7 separate regions of the Homo sapiens genome follow, and all the other regions are linked to region 7. Evidence: promoter capture Hi-C in human tissues and cell types (Jung and others, 2019). All regions are on one chromosome and are shown on one strand. Each heading gives the region's core, a stretch centred on a gene start or on the middle of the fragment in contact. The rest is flanking DNA. Distances are from core to core; before and after follow the strand shown. Region 1 overlaps FAM53A (family with sequence similarity 53 member A). Region 2 holds the start of FGFR3 (fibroblast growth factor receptor 3). Region 3 overlaps LOC105374343 (a long non-coding RNA gene). Region 4 overlaps GAK (cyclin G associated kinase). Region 5 overlaps SLBP (stem-loop histone mRNA binding protein). Region 6 holds the start of IDUA (alpha-L-iduronidase). Region 7 holds the start of UVSSA (UV stimulated scaffold protein A).

Region 1 (2,700 bases), core at 158-2,657, 300 kb before region 7:
CTGGTCACCCAGGCTGGTGTCCCGTCCTCTGGATGTTTCTGTGATTCAGTCCTCCTTCCTCTTGACCCCGGTTATTCTGCCTCAGGCCTTGATACCCTCTTCGGCTACTGAGACATCATCCTAGTTGGCTTTGTTGCCTCTAATCTCCATCTTTTTTTTTTTTTTTAAGACAGAATTTCGCTCTTTTTGCCCAGGCTGGAATGCAGTGGCACGATCTCCGGTCACTGCAACCTCCACTTCCCGGACTCAAGCAATTCTCCTGCCTCAGCCTCCCGAGTAGCTGGGGTTGCAGGCATGCACCACCACGCTTGGCTAATATTTGTATTTTTAATAGAGATAGGATTTTACCATGTTGTCCAGGCTGGTCTTGAACTTCTGACCTCAGGTGATCCGCCTGCCTCGGCCTCCCAAATTGCTGGGATTACAGATGTGAGCCACCGTGCCCGGCCCTCTCTTAATTTTTTTTTTTTTTTTTCGAGATGGAGTCTCGCTCTGTCCCAGGCTGGTGAGCAATGGAACAATGGTGTGATCTTGGCTCACTGCAACCTCTGCCTCCTGGGTCCAAGGGATTCTCCTGCCTCAGCTTCCCGAGTAGCTGGGATTATAGGTGCCCACCATCACGCCCAGCTAATTTTTGTATTTTTAGTACAGACGGGGTTTCACCACGTTGGCCAGGCTGGTCTCGAACTCCTCACCTCGTGATCCACCCGCCTCGGCCTCCCAAAGTGCTGGGATTACAGGCGTGAGCCACTGCATCTAGCCAGCTCAATCTTGATATCAATGCCCGAGTGAATTCTCTGCAATGAAGATGCGTGAGCACTGTCCTAGTCCTCTTCTTGGGACAAGCAAGCCTGAATCCAGCAGCTTCAAACTTCACACCTGTGTTAAAAAAAAAACAAAACCCGCCGGGTGTACTGGCTCACGCCTGTAATCCCAGCACCTTGGGAGGCTGAGGCGGGTGGATCATTTGAGGTCAGGAGTTCGAGACCAGCCTGGCCAACATGGTGAAACCCCGCCTCTACTAAAAATACAAAAATTTGCTGGGCATGATGGTGGGCGCCTGTAGTCCTAGCTACTTGGGAGGCTGAGTCAGGAGAATCGCTTGAACCTGGAGGCGGAGGTTGCGGTGAACTGAGATCACGCCACTGCACTCCAGCCTGGGCGACAGAGTGAGACTCTGTCTCAAAACAAAAACAAAAACAACAGAAAAAACCAAAATCAAAACCAAAAACCACCACGCCTGTGCCACCTCACAGTCAAACACCACACCTGTGCCACCTCACAGTCAAACACCACGCCTATGCCACCTCACAAACACCACACCTGTGCCACCTCACAGTCAAACACCACGCCTGTGCCACCTCACAGTCAAACACTATGCCTGTGCCACCTCACAAACACCACGCCTGTGCCACCTCACAGTCAAACGCCACGCCTTTGCCACCTCACAGTCAAACGCCACGCCTGTGCCACCTCACAGTCAAATGTCACGCCTGTGCCACCTCACAGTCAAACGCCACGCCTGTGCCACCTCACAAACACCACGCCTGTGCCACCTCACAGTCAAACACCATGACTGTGCCACCTCACAGTCAAACGCCACGCCTGTGCCACCTCACAAACACCACGCCTGTGCCACCTCACAGTCAAACGCCACGCCTGTGCCACCTCACAGTCAAACGCCACGCCTGTGCCACCTCACAGTCAAACGCCACGCCTGTGCCACCTCACAGTCAAACGCCACGCCTGTGCCACCTCACAGTCAAACGCCACGCCTGTGCCACCTCACAGTCAAACGCCACGCCTGTGCCACCTCACAAACACCACGCCTGTGCCACCTCACTGTCAAACACCACACCTGAGCCACCTCACAAACACCATGCCTGAGCCACCTCAGGGGTCCCGGAGGCCGATGGGGAGGCTCTGCTCAGGCCTCCTTGGAGCTCAGTCAGCCAGGTTGTGGTTACCTGGAGGCTTGACTGGGGCTGCAGGACCTGCTTCTAAGTTCACCCATGTGGCTTTTGGCAGGAGGCCTCATTTCTTTGCCACATGGGCCTCCCTGAGGGGCAGCCTGAGTGTGTTCACGATGTGGCAGCTTGATTTCCCATAATGAGTGACCCCAGTGGGCATGAGCGGGCCCCACAGAGCCCTGTGTGACCTGGTCCTCACCAGCTGAGATTTCGTCTGCTCCTTAACTCTGTCTAGCCCTTACTCAGTGGGAGGAGGATCGGGCTCCACTTTTTGAAGGGAGTGATTTCAAAACCGCTCTTCTCCGTAAGGAGTGTCGGTCAGAAACGGTGCTTGTGGAATGGTGTTAGCATTGATGCTGGCTCTGGTGCCTCCCACCCCTTGTGCTGGACTTTGGTTGGCCACAGACAGGTAGGGGGCTTACAGAGAGGATAGGCAGGTGCAGAGCTTTCTTTGTTCCCTTGTTTCCTTCTTTCTTTCTCTTTCCTTTTCTTTCCTCCCCTCCTCTTCCCCTTCCCCTTCCCTTTCCCTTTCCCCTTCCCCTTCCCCTTCCCTTTCCCTTTCCCCTTCCCTTTCCCCTTCCCTTTCCCCTTCCCCTTCCCCTTCCTCTTCCCTTTCCCTTTCTGTTTTGCTCTTGTTGCCCACGCTGGACTGCAGTGGCATGATCTCAGCTCAGTGCAACCTCTGCCTCCCAGATTCCAGAGATTCTCCTGCGTCAGCTTCCCAAGTGTC
Region 2 (2,785 bases), core at 25-2,524, 450 kb before region 7:
AGGGGCAGGGTCGGCAGCGGGGACGCTGGAGGCTGCTGCCTCTTCGGGCGGGCAGGGGCCGGGCTTCGCTGACGCGCACACCCACCCTTAGAAGTCCGGTCTCTCGCCTTGGCCGAAGCTGGCCACAAACTGGGGCCCGGGGGAGGGGGACGCCAACAATGGGAACTTTCCGTCTGCGCAGAACCCGAATAACAACAGCGGGAATCGTGGAAATGGGGCCCCCCGCGCCCTCCCGACAGGCCAGGGCTAGGGAGTCGCAGGGGATCGGGGCTGCGGACGCCAACCCCCAGCCTGGCTCCCCGTGGTGGCCTCGCACTTGGAGGGTAGCTGCGGCTCCGGGCGCACCACAAGTCGCCGCGCTAGCTCTGGCCGCGCTCTCCGGCAAGGAGGCAGCGGAATCCGGGCTCTAACCCCGGGGCGTCACTCACACCCGGCGGCCCCTCCGACCCGGGGCCGGTTCCCGTCCCCAACGCCTCTGCCCGCACGGGCCGGCCTCTCCCGTGCCTAGTGGGTCCCTTCTTACCTGCCGCTCGCCCCACGACGCGCTGCTCCGTCCCCAAGGACTCCGAGGAGGCGCCGGCCACGATGGCCACGGCCACGCAGAGCGCGAGGGCGCAGGCAGGGGCGCCCATGGCGGGGGCGGGGGCCGCGGCGTCCTCAGGCAGCGCGCGCGGGCATGCTGCCCCCCACGGCCCGGCGCGGGCACCGGCGGGAGGCGGGCGCCGCTCGGGAGACTACAGGAGGAGGAAGGCAGCTCGTTAGAGGGGCGGACAGGGACGAAAGCGGCGGTGGCCGGCTCCTGCGTCCCGACCCCTCCGACCCCCAGCCGCCCCGCCCGCCGCCGCCGCCGCCCAGGGCTCCCGGGCCGCCTGGCGCCGGCCGCCTCCTCCCCGCCGCGGTCCCTCCCTCCTCCCCCTTCCCTCCCTGGCTGCTGCAAAGCCCTCCCAGGGCGGCGGCGGCGGCAAACTTTCCGGAGCGGGAAGCCCGCGCCCCGGCCCGGCCCGCTGCAGGGACCTCTGTGGTTCCGCGACAGCCGCGCCCCGACCCCTCCGCGAGCACCGTTGGACCCCTCCGCGAGCCTGCCCGGCCCCAAGCACGGACCTGGCGAGCGCCGGAGCCCGGCTCGCTACGCGCGGCTCCCGCTCCGGCTCGCTGTCCGCGGGCCCAGCTCCCGCCCCGTCCCTCCGGCCGGCGGCCCGCCGGTGCGTCCGTGCGACCGGCAGAGCAGGACCGCGCGGCGCCAGCTGCCCGCGACGCCGCCGCCACCGCGCACTGAGCCTGGGCTGCCCCGCGCGCCGCAGCCAGTGGGGGACGGTCCGCGCCCCGCCCCGGCCCCGCCCCGCTCCCGCCCGGTCCCCGCCCGGCTCGCGGGGGCGCAGGGCACGCCCCCTCGGGGCGGAGCGGGGCATCCGAGGGGGCGTGGCCGGGCGGGGGCGCCCGGCGGTCTCGAGGGCGTGGGAGCCGGGGCAGGCGGGCTAGGCCCCTAGTCGCACCGCGGGGCGGCCCAGGGGGCGGCGGGCACGGGGCGCACCGAGGGCGAGGGCAGGCCTGTGTTTGCATAGCGCGCAGCTCGGGTCCCCTGGGGCTGTGCTCAGGAGCTCAGAGGGGAGGTCTCGGCGGGGGTCGGGATGTCAGGAGGCTTCGCCGAGATGCCGCGGAGCTGAACCCTGTGGTGTGAGCGGCAATTCCTCAGGTGGAGGAGGGCAGGACGGCATTCCAGGCTGAGCCTCCCGTGTGCGCCGCAGGTCTGGGGCAGCCCGGCGCGGCCTGCGTACCTGACCGGCGAGGTGCAGAGGCTGCGTTGACTGACCTGGGGCCGCACGCAGCTAAGCCGCCTGAGAGCCCCGCGCGAGGGGTCCCTACCCCCCGCCCCCCAAGGAGGACACAGGCCTGGGGCTGGCTGCCTGCCCGGCCTAGGATGAAGAGCGGGGGCTGGATACCCCTGGCTTGGGGAGCACAGCCCGGCTCTGAGGGAGGATGACAGAGAGCTGGTGGCAGAGCCTGAGCTGGCCCGAGGTTCTGGGCTCCACGGGGTGGGCTCAGAGTCCAGCTGAAGAGGGGTGGGTTCCCAGGAGGGGAAGGTGCTGCCCTGCGGGGGACGCTGGAGGTGCCTGGGTCCCCTCACCCCACATGACTGTTGGCTTCTGTGTCCACCCTCACAAGGAAAAGGCCATCTGCTCCCACCTTCAGGCAAAGCCCAAGGAGGTCCGGGGCCCATGGGAGCCAGTGAGCTGGCCGGGAGGGCCGGCCGGGTGGGCTGCGTGCCTGGCTTGTGGCTTCCAGGACTGGAGGTGCTCATCAGGAAAATGGGCGCTGAAAGCCCCTCAGTGACTGGCTGCCTGCTGACCCCACCCAGCCCATGCACAGCCCCACCATGAATCTCCCAGAGGCCAGGGTGTCCCTGGGCTGACCTCAGGGACTTGGAAGGGCCCTGCTCCCAGGAAGCCCTCATGCCCACCCCTCTGTGCCGACTCGGTGGCTCAGCACCTGTCCTTGGCCACCCTCATTTCCTGCTCTGGCCAAGCCCATGTCCCCAGACCGTCTTGGGGCCCAGGCTCACCCACCTCCAAGTGCACTGTCCAGCCCCCTCCAGTGCACAGCCCCAGGTCACTGCCAGCCAGGTCCGCTCCCAGGACACCGTTCCCCAAGGCACAGCAGCACATTGGCCCTGCTCTTTTTTTTTTTTTTTTTTTTTTTTGAGAGGGAGTCTCGCTCTGTCACCCAGGCTGGAGTGCAGTGGCACAGTCTCAGCTCAAGCAATCTCTGCCTCCCTGATTGAAGTGAT
Region 3 (2,700 bases), core at 181-2,680, 310 kb after region 7:
TGTGTCAGTGTGGGGGTGGGTGGGTGTGTCAGTGTGCAGGGGTGTGTGTCGGTGGGGTGGGTGTGTGTCAGTGTGCAGAGGTGAGTGGGTGGGTGTGTGTCAGTGTGCGGGGGTGGGTTGTGTGTCGGTGTGCGGGGATGGGTGGGTGTGTGTTGGTGTGTGGGGTGGGTGTGTGGGTAGGTGTGTGTATCGGTGTGCGGGGGTGGGTGTGTGTCTGTGCGGGGGTGTGTGTCAGTGTGCAGGAGTGGGTGTCAGTGTGCAGGAGTGGGTGTGTGTCAGTGTGCGGGTGTCACTGTAGGTGTGTGTCGGTGTGGGGGGTGGATGTGTCAGTGTGTGGGGGTGGGTGTGTGTCAGTGTGCGGGGGGTGTGTTTGTGGAGGTGTGTGTGTCGGTGTGTGTGTGGGTGTGTCAGTGTGCGGGGGTGTATGTGGAGGTGTGTGTGTCGGTGTGTGTGTCGGTGTGTGTGTGGGTGTGCATGTGTAGATGTGCGTGTGTGCATGTGTGGGTGTAGGTGTGGAAGTGGGTTGGTGGGGGTTGGGTGGGGGTGGGTGTATATTTGTCTGTGTGTTGGTGTGTGGGGGTGGGTGTGTCTGTGTGTGTGTGTGTAAACTTCTGCCCAGTCCCTGCTGGGGGGCACTCTCAGACTCAGTATTTGGGGAGGCTGAGGGAGTTGAGGAGAGCAGCAGGACCCTGGACTTGGAGAACGGTTTGGAGGACGGTGGTCTTTGGTGGCTGCTCAGCTCCTTATGGCCCCAGGTGCAGGTGACTTGGTCCTGACTCCATGTTTCCTGCCAGCAGGGGAGTGTGGCCTGGTGGGTGGGGGCCCCCAGGGGAGGTAGGGCTTGCGGGAGTGTGGATACCCGGCTCCTTCGGGTGTGGCGGCACCAGTGTCCCTCCTGCCCGCTGTGCTGGTTGCTTCTCTTACTTTGCTCCCACACGGGATGTCTCCCTTTATTCTATTTTCACTTGCAGTGCTTCTGGTTTCTCCACTTTTACATCTTAGACTGAAACTTGGCAGAAAACGATGCACGATAGGATGTTTCTGAGCCAAGACCCCTTTGAGGACAGGCTGGCTGCTGATTCGAGAGCACGGCCCAGAGCATTCAAGGAGAACATCCTTGCTGTTGGGTTTGTTTTCTTTGCAGAGTGGAGCTGTGGAAGCCGACGGACACTCCTGGCTGGCTGCAGCCAGGCAGCGCAGAGGGAGGTGCGTGTTGGCAAACGTTTGTAACGCTCACTGAGCGGTGAGCAAGACGGGGCGTCGTGCTCGCCTTTTGTGAAAAGGAACAAAAGTGCTGCCGGATTCCTGGCCTGGGTGGAGCCCCATTCACATGACCCCCAGGGGCTGGGGTCACCCCCTGAGGTCCCTCCGTGGCTCCTCGCCTGCTCCGGTGGGGCTGGGGGAGGTGGCTTAGCTGAGGCTGCACCTCCGGGGGAGGAGCTGACAGGCGCCAGCACACACATGCAGGGGTGTGTGTGTGTGTGTGTGTGTGTGTGCACTCGCCAGCGCCTCCCCCCGGGGGGTGCAGCCTCAGCTAAGCACACACACACACACACCTACATGCACACATGTGCACCGACACACACACATGCACACACAGTTCTAGAATGACCACCCTCACCACCTCAAGACTGGCCATCGGAGGGGCCACACTCAGAGGCACGGCGGCTCGAGTGGCCAGCGCCAGCAGGCGGGAGCAGCAGGAGGGGAGCGGGTGCCGCCAGCCCTGCGGTGGCCGTGGGCCTGCCACCCATGAGGCCGAATTGCTCATGGAACTCATGGCCCCAGCTCCAGCCCTGTGGAACCAGCGGCCCTCCCACCCTCCACAGGGGCAGCTGAGCTTCCAAAGGCGAAGGCTGGAATCCAGTCCTTGGAACAATTTCCAGATGTTTTTGGCGTTAAAGTGCCTCCTGTGAAACTGGGGGTGCAGCCGGGCTGCCAGCCTGGGGTCTCCGGTCTACCCAGTGGGCACTTTTGTCATTTGGTCTGGCAACCATGCCACTCTGAAGAATGCTCTCTGCCCTCCAAGGAGAGCAGCCAGCCAGCGGGAGGCCTGTGCCGGGCAGTGGGCACGGGCCCTGACCCCAGCTTGGGGAGGGGCCTGGCATGGCAGGAACATCCTTACAGGCCCCAAAGCTTTAGCACAGTGGGAAGAGTGCACGGCACCTCTGAGCCTGCTCCCCAGGGGCACTAGGCCAACCAGGAGCCTGCCTGCCAGCACCCTCCGCAGCCCACCCTGCCTGGGTGGACAGACGGAGGCAGCCTGGGACCCCCTTGCCACGTGCCCCTCTGCAGTCCTGGTCACCCCATTGTTCAAGGGGTGCTAGGACCCTGAGCACTGCCCTGACCCTAGGCAGTAGGGAAGTGAGGGACACACACACGAGAACACACACGCCATCCACACACACACACACACACGAACGCACACGCCATGCACACACACAGAGCACCCACATGTGCACTTGCTCAAGTGTGCACAGACGCACGTGCATGGAAACCCCAGTACACGTGTACATCCCCACTCATGCACATGTACACACACACACACGAAACCCCAGCCCCACACACAACTACAGCACCAGGTGACACCTTTGCAGAAAAGGGATCGTGAAGCCTCAGACCCAAGTCAGGACTCAGAGCCCGGAAGCCTGTGTCTGCACCGGGCTCCCTCGCCTCCTGCCAGTGAGGCCCTGCCAGGCT
Region 4 (2,700 bases), core at 78-2,577, 430 kb after region 7:
TTTCAGGGATGCGTCCCTGTTACGTACTTTGTTTCCTTTTACAGCCTGGACATACTTGTCCCTTTTGCTTCTGCTGAATCTCAGCAGCCTTGGGCACTGCAGGAGCCTTGGTCTCCAGCTTTGGGCTTCACACTCCTGTGGCCCTGCCTGCCCTGTGGCAGGGGCTGTGCTGGGGGTGACCTCATGGTGGGGTCATGCCCTCTTGGCCTCCATGTGCCAAAATAAGGGCTCTATGAATACAAGGAGTTTAAAAGCTGCTTGTAAAAAATATTTGTTGCTAGCATTTCTGTAAATAGGGGTCACTGTGGGAGGGTCTGTACTGTGCAGTTTTGTCCTGAGACGTAAGAAGGCCCCATTTGCTGTCACCACGCTGGGCACCAGGGTGGCCCCGCCTTTGAGAGTGGGCATGAGTGGGCCTGTTGTCGTGGTCTGCACGCCTGCTGCCCCCGTGTCTGCAGAGCATTGCCGCTCTTCCTTCTTGTCTGTCTCATTTTACTCTGGCCCATTTGGGGAAAGGCTCCTGCTTTTGACTTTTCTTGTGTCCTTGCATCACAAAGATCTTTTGAGGGTCTTGAACCCCCAGCACGTTTTTACAGGGGTCAGAGGTGGAGACACACGAAACGGGGGGAGCTGTATTAGACACATTGCATTGCTCTGTTGCGTGCTTATGTCTGAGATGATGCATCGGGTGGAGTAGGAAGGTAAACTTGCTTTCATCTTTTGTGTGTGCTGTTTCCTGATACAGAGGCTATTATCCAATGAAGAGGAAAAGAACAGAGCCATCATTCAAGAAGTTTGCTTCATGGTATCCTTTTCCTGGAACCAGGAGCCAGCACGGTGGCTTTGGCAGGCACAGGCCTGCGTCAAGCTGTGACCGCCAGTGGCCAAGAGGCTGCTCCGTGACGTTGTCTTTCATGTGTTAAAATCGGCTTTTTGCTTTTACCAAACCTAGTTGTAGGCGACTTCTAGGAAGAAGCAGTTTTTTCTGTTTTTTTTTTACTGCCAGGGTAATAGTAGAAGATTCAGAAGTGTTGGGAATGAAGTTGTTCCTACCCAAGAGGTCTCCCTGCCCAGTGGATGGGCTGGTTACCACAGGGGGCCCTTGCCCGGCCCGGCCCCCTCAGCTCCTCCGGAGACCTGGCTGAGAGCCGTGCAGATGGCCTGGCTCCCACAGGCCCCGATGTGGCTTCTCAGCCGCCCCTCTCGTCCCTTCTCAGGCTGTCCCAGCATGACTGGGCGGGGCATCTCCCGGCGCTGACAGAGGATCTGGGGGCTGCACTCCCTGTCCACTGCCACATGTCCCTCCTGAGCCTGGAGTCTTCGGCCCTGGCTGCCCTCAGACTCTGCCTCTCTTTCCTCTCCTAGCTCTGTTCACTCGGAGAGCCCGCCGGCTGCCTGAGTGTGGGTTCGGGTGGACACAGCCACGCCGCAGCCTCCCTGCGCACAGCCCCCTGAGGGCCCTGCCTCCTCCTGCCACGCGCGGGATGGACTTTGGTGTCGCTGTGGTCAGGTGTGTGTGGCCGGTGTGCCTGCCTTTGTCCCCGCCCTCTCCTGCAGCTCCTCCTGCCTCTGTCTGCCTTTCTCTCGGTCGTCCACTGCTCTCTCCCTCATCTTCCGCTCTGACGTCTAAAATTGTAAGGGTTCGATTCAAGTATTCTGACTTCAGTGTGTTAATATTGTCTACATTTATTTTGAAGTGCACAGAACTGTGGACATGGTTATGTACGTTCTCCTTTAACAAGACAACTGCAGAAAAAGCTTTCCGGCCACCCGAACATTGTCCAGTTTTGTTCTGCAGCGTCTATAGGAAAAGAGGAGTCAGACACGGGGCAGGCTGAGTTCCTCTTGCTCACAGAGCTCTGTAAAGGTAACGTCCTGTGAAGGCCGGCTTGGTGCCATCTAACCCAGCAGAGGCCGGCTTGATGCCTCCTAACCCAGCTGCATGGCTGTGAAACATGCCCGGCATCTTCTCTCAAGCTGTGTTGGTCTTAGCGGGAAGCGCGGGCAGCTCTCTGACAGTAGTTCTGTGAGAGGCCCACGCTGACGCCCAGTGAGCTTCCCACTGTCCCGGTGGGCCACCTGCATCGTCTCCTCGTGGAGCTGCGGGCAGCCAGAGAGCCGGGCTCCCATCCTGCCTGTCTCCAGTGGCAGCACGGGGTAGAGCGTGGTGGCCTTCCGTGAGTGGTGTTTAGCAGGGGTGGAGGAGCGTCTGTCCTTCTCAGGGCTCTGGGGTCCCTGTGGGGTGGAGCGTGGTGGCCTTCCATGAGCGGTGTTGAGCAGGGTGGAGGAGTGCTGCTGTCCGTCCTTGTCAGGGGCTCTGGGGTCCTGGCAAGGAGAAGAGAGGCCGCAGAGGTGGACAACTCCAGGTCCCTCTGTGGGTGCCCAGCCTCATCAGGGTTGAGCCCAGGAAGATGGCACAACGACTCCATGGTCCGTTTGTCAGGACAGGAAGAGAGGCCGGTGGGTTGGGGTGGTGCTTTCGGAGAGTTCTAGGGGCAGAGTGGTCTGTGTGAGTGACTGCGGGGGATGTCGTGTTGGTGTCACCGGAGCCCACGCTGACTGGCCGGAGACCTGGCCTGACCCTGCTGAGCCTCAGGCTGTGTCTGCAAAGGGGAAACAAGACCTGTGCCTCAGAGGGCGGCTCCACCCCCAGCCCTGCCTCGTGCCGATGCCCTCCAGAACTCCTGTGCCAGGTGACGA
Region 5 (2,750 bases), core at 14-2,513, 360 kb before region 7:
CAGCCAGGGGAAGCACGAGGTTGCTGGAAGTGAGTAGTTGCTCTGCACCGTCAAGCATGCACACATCTGTCTAGATGTGCCCGCGATCTGTGAAACTCGGGCTTTGTTAGAATAATGGAATTCTTTGGTGGTCGGTTTTATGAAAGGCAATATTGTCACAATCCTGTCAACATTGACATTGGTAATGACTTCAAGCTGGGACTAATGGCATAGAGACAAATTAAATACAAGATGGGAAACTCTACACTCTCTGAACTTCTTAGAGTCAACTTCATAAGCTCCAGCATCAGGCCGGATGTTGGATCAATGAGATAAGGTTAACCCATAGAAATGCCAGAACTGAAGCTGAAAACTAGATATGGGTTTTTCTGACTGCCACACACACTGCAAAAATTTGAAGCAAATCTCCCATCTTAATGACTTTATAAACACATACCAGAGATGAACGAAATAAGTTGATTTCAGCCATATGATAGCCCTGGACTACTGAAGTGTGGACACCCAAAAGGAATCATAATTTAGTTTGAAGTCTAAAATCTAGTTGGTTTTATTAGACCCCCAAACACAGTGGGCACACTGCCAAGGAGCTCCATGACTTCTGCTCTAGTAAGACAGCCCTGGATAGACAGATGCAGCTGATAGGTTATGTTCTACATCTAGTTTGCTTTTGTCCTGCTAAACTCCAGTTTAGTATGGTTTGATACACATAGTTCACTGATATAATGCTTTTATTTTTTTGGGTGGGGGACAGAGATGAGGTCTCACTATCTTGCCCATGCTGGTCTTGAACTCCTGGGTTCAAGTGATCCTCCTACCTCAGTTTCCAAAGTGCTGGTATTACAGGCACAAGCCACTGTGTCCCACCAGCCTTTGAATATTTCTTGACATACAGTTTGAAAGAAAACAAAGTATGTGTCATGGTTCAGTAGCATTTTCCTTTTATTGCAGCTTTACCACTCCTGAAGGCCCTAAACCCCGTTCCAGATGCTCTGACTGGGCAAGTGCAGTTGAAGAAGATGAAATGAGGACCAGAGTTAACAAAGAAATGGCAAGGTACACATTTTGGACCACCTTGAAGTGTTAATCTGTGGCGTTTTCAGTAACACATTAAATTTGATATTTGTCTTAGAACAGTGGTTTTCAAAGGTCTGGGCTCCAGACCAAAGGCATCAACATTTCCTGGGAACTTGTTAGAAATACAGATTCTCAGACCCTTCCCTGGGCCTGCGAATGGGGTGGGGCCTGGCCATCCTGTGAAAAGCCCTCCAGGCGGGTCCACTCTTTCAAGCTTGAAGACCACTGTCCTCTTGGTGGTAATCCTTCCAAGAGTGGAAGTAGGTGCACAATGGTGTTACTGCTGGATTGCAGGCTGGAGGACTATCAGAACTAACTTTCTTTTTTTTTTTTTTTTTTTGAGACAGTCTCGCTCTGTTGCCCGGGCTGGAGTACAGTGACAAGATCTCGGCTCACTGCAACCTCTGCCTCCCGGGTTCAAGCGATTCTCTTGCCTCAGCCTCCTGAGTAGCTGAGATTACAGGCACAGGCCACCACGCCTGGCTAATTTTTGTATTTTTTGTAGAGATGGGGTTTCACTATGTTTGTCAGGCTGGTCTTGAACTCCTGATCCGCCCACCTCGGCCTCCCAAAGTGCTGGGATTACAGGCATGAGTCACTGTGCCCGGCCTAACTATCAGGAACTTACTATAGTCATTTGTTACCACCGACCTTCTGTGTGCGGTGCTCACACAACCCAGCACAGTAGATGGAGTGCTCTCTCCAGATGAAGGAATACATTGACACTTGGCTTAGGCAACAAACAGCTCAGAAATGCCAACATACAAGGAAAGGTCTCAAACTTGGATTCTGTGAACCTCTTGCAGTTGCACACAAGATTGTTGTGTGTATCCAAGTTCTTGCAAACTAAGCTACTTCGTCTTCGTTGACTCATTACCTAATGCATCCTTAACCATGTTTAATCTCCCTTGATTATCAGTGTGTTGATCCTTTCTCTTTTGATGAGTTGTCTAACTCAAACCCAGTTGCAAGGACTGGGTTTATTCAAACCCAGTTAAAATGTGGCTCATAATTGGTTGAAGTATTTTACAAGATAATTTTAGCCAACAAGTGGCTGATAAACAGGGTCTCAAGAAAAATGTGTCTTGCGTGTCAGCCGCGGAACGATACCTAGACTACCTGTTTTCATTTTGGCAGCCAGTGATGGTATTTATATCAGCCTCCTTTGAAAAGGGACGGGAATATGTGGGAATTGGTTATTGAACATTTGGGGGAGTTATTTGTCATTTCTTCTGGTATCAAAATGTGTGGGTGGATGTATGCCTTGGTAGAAGAAATGAACTAGGAGTTCACAGATGAGAGTACCAGTGTTTTTAGTGAATTATTGCATTTATATAGGTCTTGACTTCCTCAATTATAAAATTAGAATGTTTGACTTGACTTGTATAGTTTGTGTTGCATGCACAAGTCTTAGAACAGTTCTTGCATACCGATAGCCTAGTTGCTCCCTCAAGTCACCCCTTGCCAGGGGTTATCTGCAGCTCTTATTCATGCGTATTCCACCTGTCCAGATTGTCCTGTGAGTGGACCCTATTTGTTCTTCAGATATCTCATGGGTCTGTGCCTGAAAATTGTCCTGTTTTGGAAAACAGCACTGTTTGGGCTGCTCTGTTGATTATACCCTTTGTGATGGAAAGCTACGGCTTTTATTTACTTACTTATTTTTTTGAGATGGA
Region 6 (2,700 bases), core at 107-2,606, 360 kb after region 7:
GGGTCTCTGTGTTTCCAGAAGGCCCCACACACCCAAGTGCCCCTCACACCTCGTGCCTCCCCCTCACAGGGTGGCCACCTGCACCAGCGTCAGGGCCCAGGGTGCTGTGACCGATGAGACCTCAGCTCAGCCCTCAGGTGCAGTGGCCCTACCCAGCCTGGCCAGCAGACACACACAGGGATGCTCACGGGTGCACCAGGAGCCAGGTGCGGCGCAGCCAACCCTGAGCCTGCAGGGAGACCTGCAGGAAGCCCACCGTGCCCCATGCAGGGGCTCCCTCCAGCACACAGCCCTCACCCCAGCACAGCCAGCAAGGACACGCTCTCCCCAACAGGGTGCTTCGGCGGGAGGTGGGGGAACAAGGGGTCTTCCGAGCAGCCCCCAGCCCTCCCCTCCCATCTGTGCCTCTGTAAGGGGCTCTGGGACGCCCAGACCCTGCCCGCCGCCCACCTGGTGGTGACAAGCTCCAGCAGCCAGTGGGTCCGGACCTGCTTGATGCCGCGGTGAGGGACGGCGCCCACATAGGCGAGGTTGAGCTGCTGGTCCCAGCTGAGGACGTACTGGTCAGCCTGGCTGTGTGGCAGCGGGGGGCTGGGGACAACAAAGGGGCGGCTCAGTCCCGAGCCTCAGCATGGCTGGCAGCGCGGCTGACACACACGTTCAAGCCCAGGACTGCCCGGGCGCAGGATCCAGGCGCTGCCCGTGCGTTCAGTGACTAATAAAATGACCCTTAGGGCCAGGAATGTGGGGAGGTCCCATCTTCATGGGGAACGGCAGCAGCAGTAAGACGAGGGGCCAACGCCAGCCCTGGCCCTGGCCCTGCCAGGAAGGCGGGTACCTCAGCTCTAGGTGGAAGGAATGGGACAGGCAGGCCAGGTCCCGCTGCAGGGCCGTCCACTCCCAGGGGAGACTCCTGGTTTACCTCAAAGAGCAGGATCCCGGGCATCGGCCTGGGCTGCAGGGGGCGGCCCAGGCTCACGCCCCGGCGCCCACTCAGGTGGAGGACCCACCCACAAACACGGCGGGGGGCGGGCCCGGGAGAGCCAGGGCCCCAGAGGAGGGAGCTCCGGTCTCTGAAGCTCTCACAGTGCGCAGTCAGGGGGCGCCCGAGCTCTCCCCGTGCGGCCAGGGGGTCCCGGAGGCCGCGGAGCGCTCACCAGAAGCCTGTGCTCCTCCAGAAGCGCCGCAGGGGCCACAGCGCGCGGGCCGCGTCCACATGCACCAGGTGCGGGGCCTCGGCCGGGGCCACCGGGGGCGCGGCCAGGAGCGAGGCCAGGAGCGCCAGCAGCGCGGCGCGGGGGCGCAGGGGACGCATGGCCACGCGTGCTCGGGGACTGCGGGGCTTCGGGCTGCACTGCCGGTTCCGCCTCCGGGTCGGAGTCTGGGCGCGCACCCCATGTGACCGCCGCCGCGGGGCGGGGCCTTGGTGAGGGGGCGATGGCCGGGTGGGAGGGGTTGGGTGGCCTCGGGGAGCCTCGGGGAGCCGGGAGCACGGCAGGGCTTGGAGCCCCGCTTCCTTGCGGGCCTCAGGGGCTGCTCTGAGGACCGATGACTCGGAAAGCGCTCAGAAGAACGCTTCGCCCGTTGGTGCTATGTGAGTTGAGCCATTACTGTCTTGTTTTTCTCTGTTTTTGTGTGTTTTTGAGACAGAGTCTTGCTTTGTCGCCCAGGCTGAGGTGCAGTGGCGCGATCTCAGCTCACTGCAACCTCCATCTCCGGGGCTTCAGCGATTTTCTCACCCCAGCCTCCTGAGTAAAGCGTGCGCTTTAGCAGGAAGGAGAATTACCCCAGAAGAGCACACTGGGCCCTCCTTACACTTGGCTTCAGATCCATGGATTCAACCAAGCAGACTGAAAATATTGTTTTAAAGCCAAAGCAATACGAAATAATACATATTTTAAAACAATACAGTATAACAGCTATTTACAGAGCATTTACATTGTTTTAGGGACTATAAGTAATCTTGATTTAAACTACACAGTAGGATGTGCGTAGGTAATGTGCAAATACTGTGCCATTTTATATCAAGTACTTGAGCACCTGCAAATTTTGGTATCTGGGAGGGTCCTGGAACCAATACCCCGAGGATACCATGGGACAACTGTAGTACATGTGTAGTCCATGTATGCATGTGTGAATCCAAGCAAACATTGTATAAAAATAATAATGGAAAGAACAGGCTTGGTGCGGTGGCTCACACCTGCAATCCCAGCACTTTGGAATTGCAGGCCAACACGGGAGGATCACTTGAGGCCTGGAGTTTGAAATCGGCCTGGGAGATGTACCAAGACCCCATCTGTACAAAAAAAAAATTTAGCCAGATGCGATGGTATATGCCTGTGAGGCCCAGCTACCCACGAAATTGAGGTGGGAGATTGCTTGAGCTTAGGAGTTCAAGGCTGAGACGGGCCATGATCACACCACTACATTCCAGCCTGGTTGACAAAATGAGACCCCATCTCTAAAAAAAGAAAAGAAAAAAAGAACAGTCTACTAACAAAACGAAAATACTGGACAATAATCCTCTCTAAGTTGGGAGAAGGATAATTAGAGTTACAGTGTTCTGGGTCTTTTTATTTTGGGGAGAGGGGTTAAAATATTGCTTAACATTAGGTCTTCTTATGTTGAAATTGCATTAAAAGTGATTAGCCATTTAAAAGTGAAATAGTGTGTATATATTCCAAATTAGCAAGGAGGAAA
Region 7 (2,700 bases), core at 158-2,657:
TCCCCTCCGGCGTTTTCCTTGGAGGAAGTGAACAGAGGTGGACATACCCTAAAGGCGATGGACCAACTCGCCCATCAGCAAGCTCTATTCTTTCCCTTCGAAAAGTCCAGCAGCAAAGAAAAAGATGCACGTTTCTCTCTGAATCACATTTGTGCACTCAAGAACTCCTACAGGATGTGCTCCAGACCACACAAATGGGAATGAAGAGAAGCACCAACCACAGAGCAGTGGGGTCCCCAACGCCACACGCCCCGACCCCAGAACATGACCACCCGTCAGAGCCGGGTACTGCAGGGCCCCGAGAAAATGTCCTGGGTGTGTCCCTCGGGTGGTTCTCTCCCAGGTGGGGGCAGGAGGGCAGGGCCCTGTGTGTGTCCTGGGCTCAGTGGGCCAGTCAGTTACTGTTACTGAACCCTAAGACATACTTGCAAATTTTCTTCAGTTCCTTCATTTTCTCAGGATTTAGTCGGGGTTCTCCTGAAGTTGTGAGCTCTTCTACCAACTTCGAAAGTTTCTGATCCATATCTAGAAATAAGTAAGGCAGAGATGCTATATCACCATCTGTATTTTATAGCTCTCGGTGTTATTAACGTGTTTACTGGGTTCCACTATAAACCGAAAGCTCCGGGAGGACCCTGAGGCTGGGGTCCATCTGTGGGTGCCTCTCTGGGAAATATGTGTGTCCAGCAAGGCCTTTACGGCGGTGATTGCAGTTTTAAAAGTGAACCTTAAACTCGGGACCTCTACAATCCCGTGTGTGGGACGCTGCATTGAGGGTCGTGCGTTAAAGGAACCAGTGGCGCTGTCCGAATCAGCTTTTCCCCAACGTGACTGTTGCTGTTTCCCTTATTCACTCAGATTCCGCAGGGCAGCCTCCAGCAAGGCTGCAGAGGCCAAGAGGAGCCAAGAAATTCTGAGACCAATGAAAAGTCGCGTCCGGAGAGCAGGGGCGGCCCTAACGGAGGCAGCCTGCCCGGATACCCAGGGCCGAGCACCGCGGCGTGCCTGGTGGGATGAGGCGAGGGCCTGCCGCACCGCCAGGGAAAGGCCGAAGGACCCGGAAGGAAGCGCCAGGCGAGGCCGGGGCGGAGGCTGGGAAGCTGCGCCCTACTCGGGGAAAGAAGGGGCCCGGCAGGGCCACGCGAGGCTTGGACCGCGGGGTCGCTCTCGCACAGCGGCTGCACCGGGCGGGCGCGCCGGCTTCGACGGTGCTCGGGGGGCTGCGGCCTGTCACTCGGCCCAGGGCCCGCCCTCCGGCCCCGCCGCCGGCGCTCTCGGGCACACGGGACACGCCCTGGCCGCAGGTCTCTGCCCGGCGCCCGCAGAGCCCCGGGGACCGAACCGGCGCGACCCCCGCCCGGCAGCGTAACCACAGCCCCACCTACCGCTGACGCGGCCGCTCGCCTCGCCCCGCCCCTTCCGGCGGGGGGACCGCCCCTCTTGTCAGGTGCCCAAGACCTCTACCGCCATTGGCTGGCCCTGGGCCGGACGCATCAGGACCTGGGGTCACCACAGCGACGACTGCACCTACCGCTCGACGCGGCCTTTCTCGCCGTTGCCCCACCCTTTCCGGTCAAGGCCCCGCCCCCTAGCACGTGCCCTGAGCTCGACAGCCAATGGCTCACCCCAGCCCAGGAGGCGCAGGCGCAAAGACGCGGCCGAGGTCTGCGCGGTGACGTAGGCGCGCTCCCGGCGAGGGCGAGGCAGGCTGCCGGGGGTGGGGAGGGGGACGCACGAGAAAAAAGAGGCGGGAGGGCGCAGAAAGTCCTTAAAGGGGCCGCATGTACGGGCGCCGGGGGCGGGGCCGGCCGGGAAACTGAGGCCGAAAGGAAGTTCCGGTCTGGGCCTCAACGCCACGCCCGCCCGCGGGCTCGCAGCCAGGTCCCTTCACCTGCAGAGGGCCGGTGAGGACCGCCCAGACGGGCGGGCGCGGGCCCCCGCCCCCGAGCTCGCCCCGCGCAGGGCGCCCTGAACCCCGCGGCGCCTCCCCGCTCCGGCCTCGGGAAGGGAATCCCTGGGCGGGCTTGGGGGTCTTCGGGGCCCACCTCGGCGCCAGACGCACAGCAGGTACCCCTGGGCCCGGGCTGGCCCTGGGCGGAATGAGAAGCAGAGGCGCCGTCCGTCCTGCCGCCGAAGTCCGCAGCCTCGAACGCAGGGGAGTGCGAGGTCGGCTGCGGACGGACGGACCTGGAGACCGCGCTTGGGAAACCGTGGCTTCGGAGGAGCGTGGTGTGGACCCCACTCGCGGGGCGCCCGGCACAGGCCACGCAGAGCAGACGCCCGACTGGGCTCCCGGGGCTGGGTGCAGGGCGGGGGCCGCCGGCGGCGGGCCGGGGTTTCTTTTTCGGGGGGATGGGCGTGCCCTTGCATTACGGTGGTGGTAGCTCACAACTCTGTTAATCGTGTTTTTACAGGGTGGGTTTCAGGATGTGTGAGTTATATCTCAGTAAAGCAATTATTTTAAAAAGGAAAAGAAGAGGGACTCCCTGCGCCGCCCCTCTCTGCAGCACCAGCTTCTGTCCCTGGGCGTCAGTGGCTCCCAGCTCCTAGCTTGCAGCCAGCCCCGAGCCGCTCCTCCGCCTCACCCCTTCCTCACCCTGCCTCTTGCTTCACTGAGCAAGCTGCAGCCAGACCCTCCCTCAGCGCCCCTTGCCCTGTGCATCCAATCCCCGGCCTGTGGCTTCCTCCAAGGCACCCATC

Evidence for each region. Contacts are between HindIII fragments. The study calls those that stand out against the background at their distance.
Region 1: a fragment that was not itself captured here is called in contact with the fragment with the promoter of UVSSA in region 7 in 4 of the 25 tissues and cell types used here (H1 embryonic stem cells, dorsolateral prefrontal cortex, lymphoblastoid cells and 1 more).
Region 2: the fragment with the promoter of FGFR3 here is called in contact with the fragment with the promoter of UVSSA in region 7 in 1 of the 25 tissues and cell types used here (liver).
Region 3: a contact is called between a fragment that was not itself captured here and the fragment with the promoter of UVSSA in region 7, in 2 of the 25 tissues and cell types used here (aorta and spleen).
Region 4: a contact is called between a fragment that was not itself captured here and the fragment with the promoter of UVSSA in region 7, in 1 of the 25 tissues and cell types used here (H1 embryonic stem cells).
Region 5: a fragment that was not itself captured here is called in contact with the fragment with the promoter of UVSSA in region 7 in 1 of the 25 tissues and cell types used here (lymphoblastoid cells).
Region 6: the fragment with the promoter of IDUA here is called in contact with the fragment with the promoter of UVSSA in region 7 in 1 of the 25 tissues and cell types used here (dorsolateral prefrontal cortex).

Annotation. Positions count from the first base shown.
Region 1 is chr4:1,648,999-1,651,698 of GRCh38, reverse strand. The region is part of intron 4 of FAM53A (family with sequence similarity 53 member A); the gene reads left to right. Among named protein-coding and RNA genes, the nearest start is that of FAM53A, 34 kb to the left of the region's middle. The HindIII fragment of the contact is 7,179 bases long and covers 1-2,700 here.
Region 2 is chr4:1,791,782-1,794,566 of GRCh38, reverse strand. It overlaps FGFR3 (fibroblast growth factor receptor 3), which reads right to left and starts at 1,274. Exons shown (of 18, transcript NM_000142.5): 1 at 1,102-1,274; 2 at 524-734. The coding sequence starts at 632. RefSeq lists silencers at 1,017-1,166, 1,217-1,456. The HindIII fragment of the contact is 26,733 bases long and covers 1-2,785 here.
Region 3 is chr4:1,040,229-1,042,928 of GRCh38, reverse strand. All of the region lies in intron 1 of LOC105374343 (a long non-coding RNA gene), which reads right to left. Among named protein-coding and RNA genes, the nearest start is that of FGFRL1, 30 kb to the right of the region's middle. RefSeq lists silencers at 829-1,010, 1,391-1,589. The HindIII fragment of the contact is 9,265 bases long and covers 1-2,700 here.
Region 4 is chr4:910,840-913,539 of GRCh38, reverse strand. GAK (cyclin G associated kinase) reads left to right here. Exons shown (of 28, transcript NM_005255.4): 3 at 746-805; 4 at 1,753-1,867. Among named protein-coding and RNA genes, the nearest start is that of GAK, 20 kb to the left of the region's middle. RefSeq lists enhancers at 1-745, 746-1,651 and a silencer at 837-995. The HindIII fragment of the contact is 5,304 bases long and covers 1-2,700 here.
Region 5 is chr4:1,701,899-1,704,648 of GRCh38, reverse strand. SLBP (stem-loop histone mRNA binding protein) reads left to right here. Exons shown (of 8, transcript NM_006527.4): 3 at 949-1,053. Among named protein-coding and RNA genes, the nearest start is that of SLBP, 9.0 kb to the left of the region's middle. The HindIII fragment of the contact is 4,119 bases long and covers 1-2,750 here.
Region 6 is chr4:985,700-988,399 of GRCh38, reverse strand. IDUA (alpha-L-iduronidase) reads right to left here and starts at 1,356. Exons shown (of 14, transcript NM_000203.5): 1 at 1,158-1,356; 2 at 451-591. The coding sequence starts at 1,315. It overlaps SLC26A1 (solute carrier family 26 member 1), which reads left to right. Exons shown (of 3, transcript NM_022042.4): 3 at 1-743. RefSeq lists silencers at 890-1,067, 850-1,499 and an enhancer at 1,710-1,769. The HindIII fragment of the contact is 27,782 bases long and covers 1-2,700 here.
Region 7 is chr4:1,345,915-1,348,614 of GRCh38, reverse strand. It overlaps UVSSA (UV stimulated scaffold protein A), which reads right to left and starts at 1,407. Exons shown (of 14, transcript NM_020894.4): 1 at 855-1,407; 2 at 426-525. The coding sequence starts at 523. RefSeq lists enhancers at 719-798, 2,644-2,700 and silencers at 1,029-1,468, 1,709-2,038, 2,259-2,348. The HindIII fragment of the contact is 13,201 bases long and covers 1-2,700 here.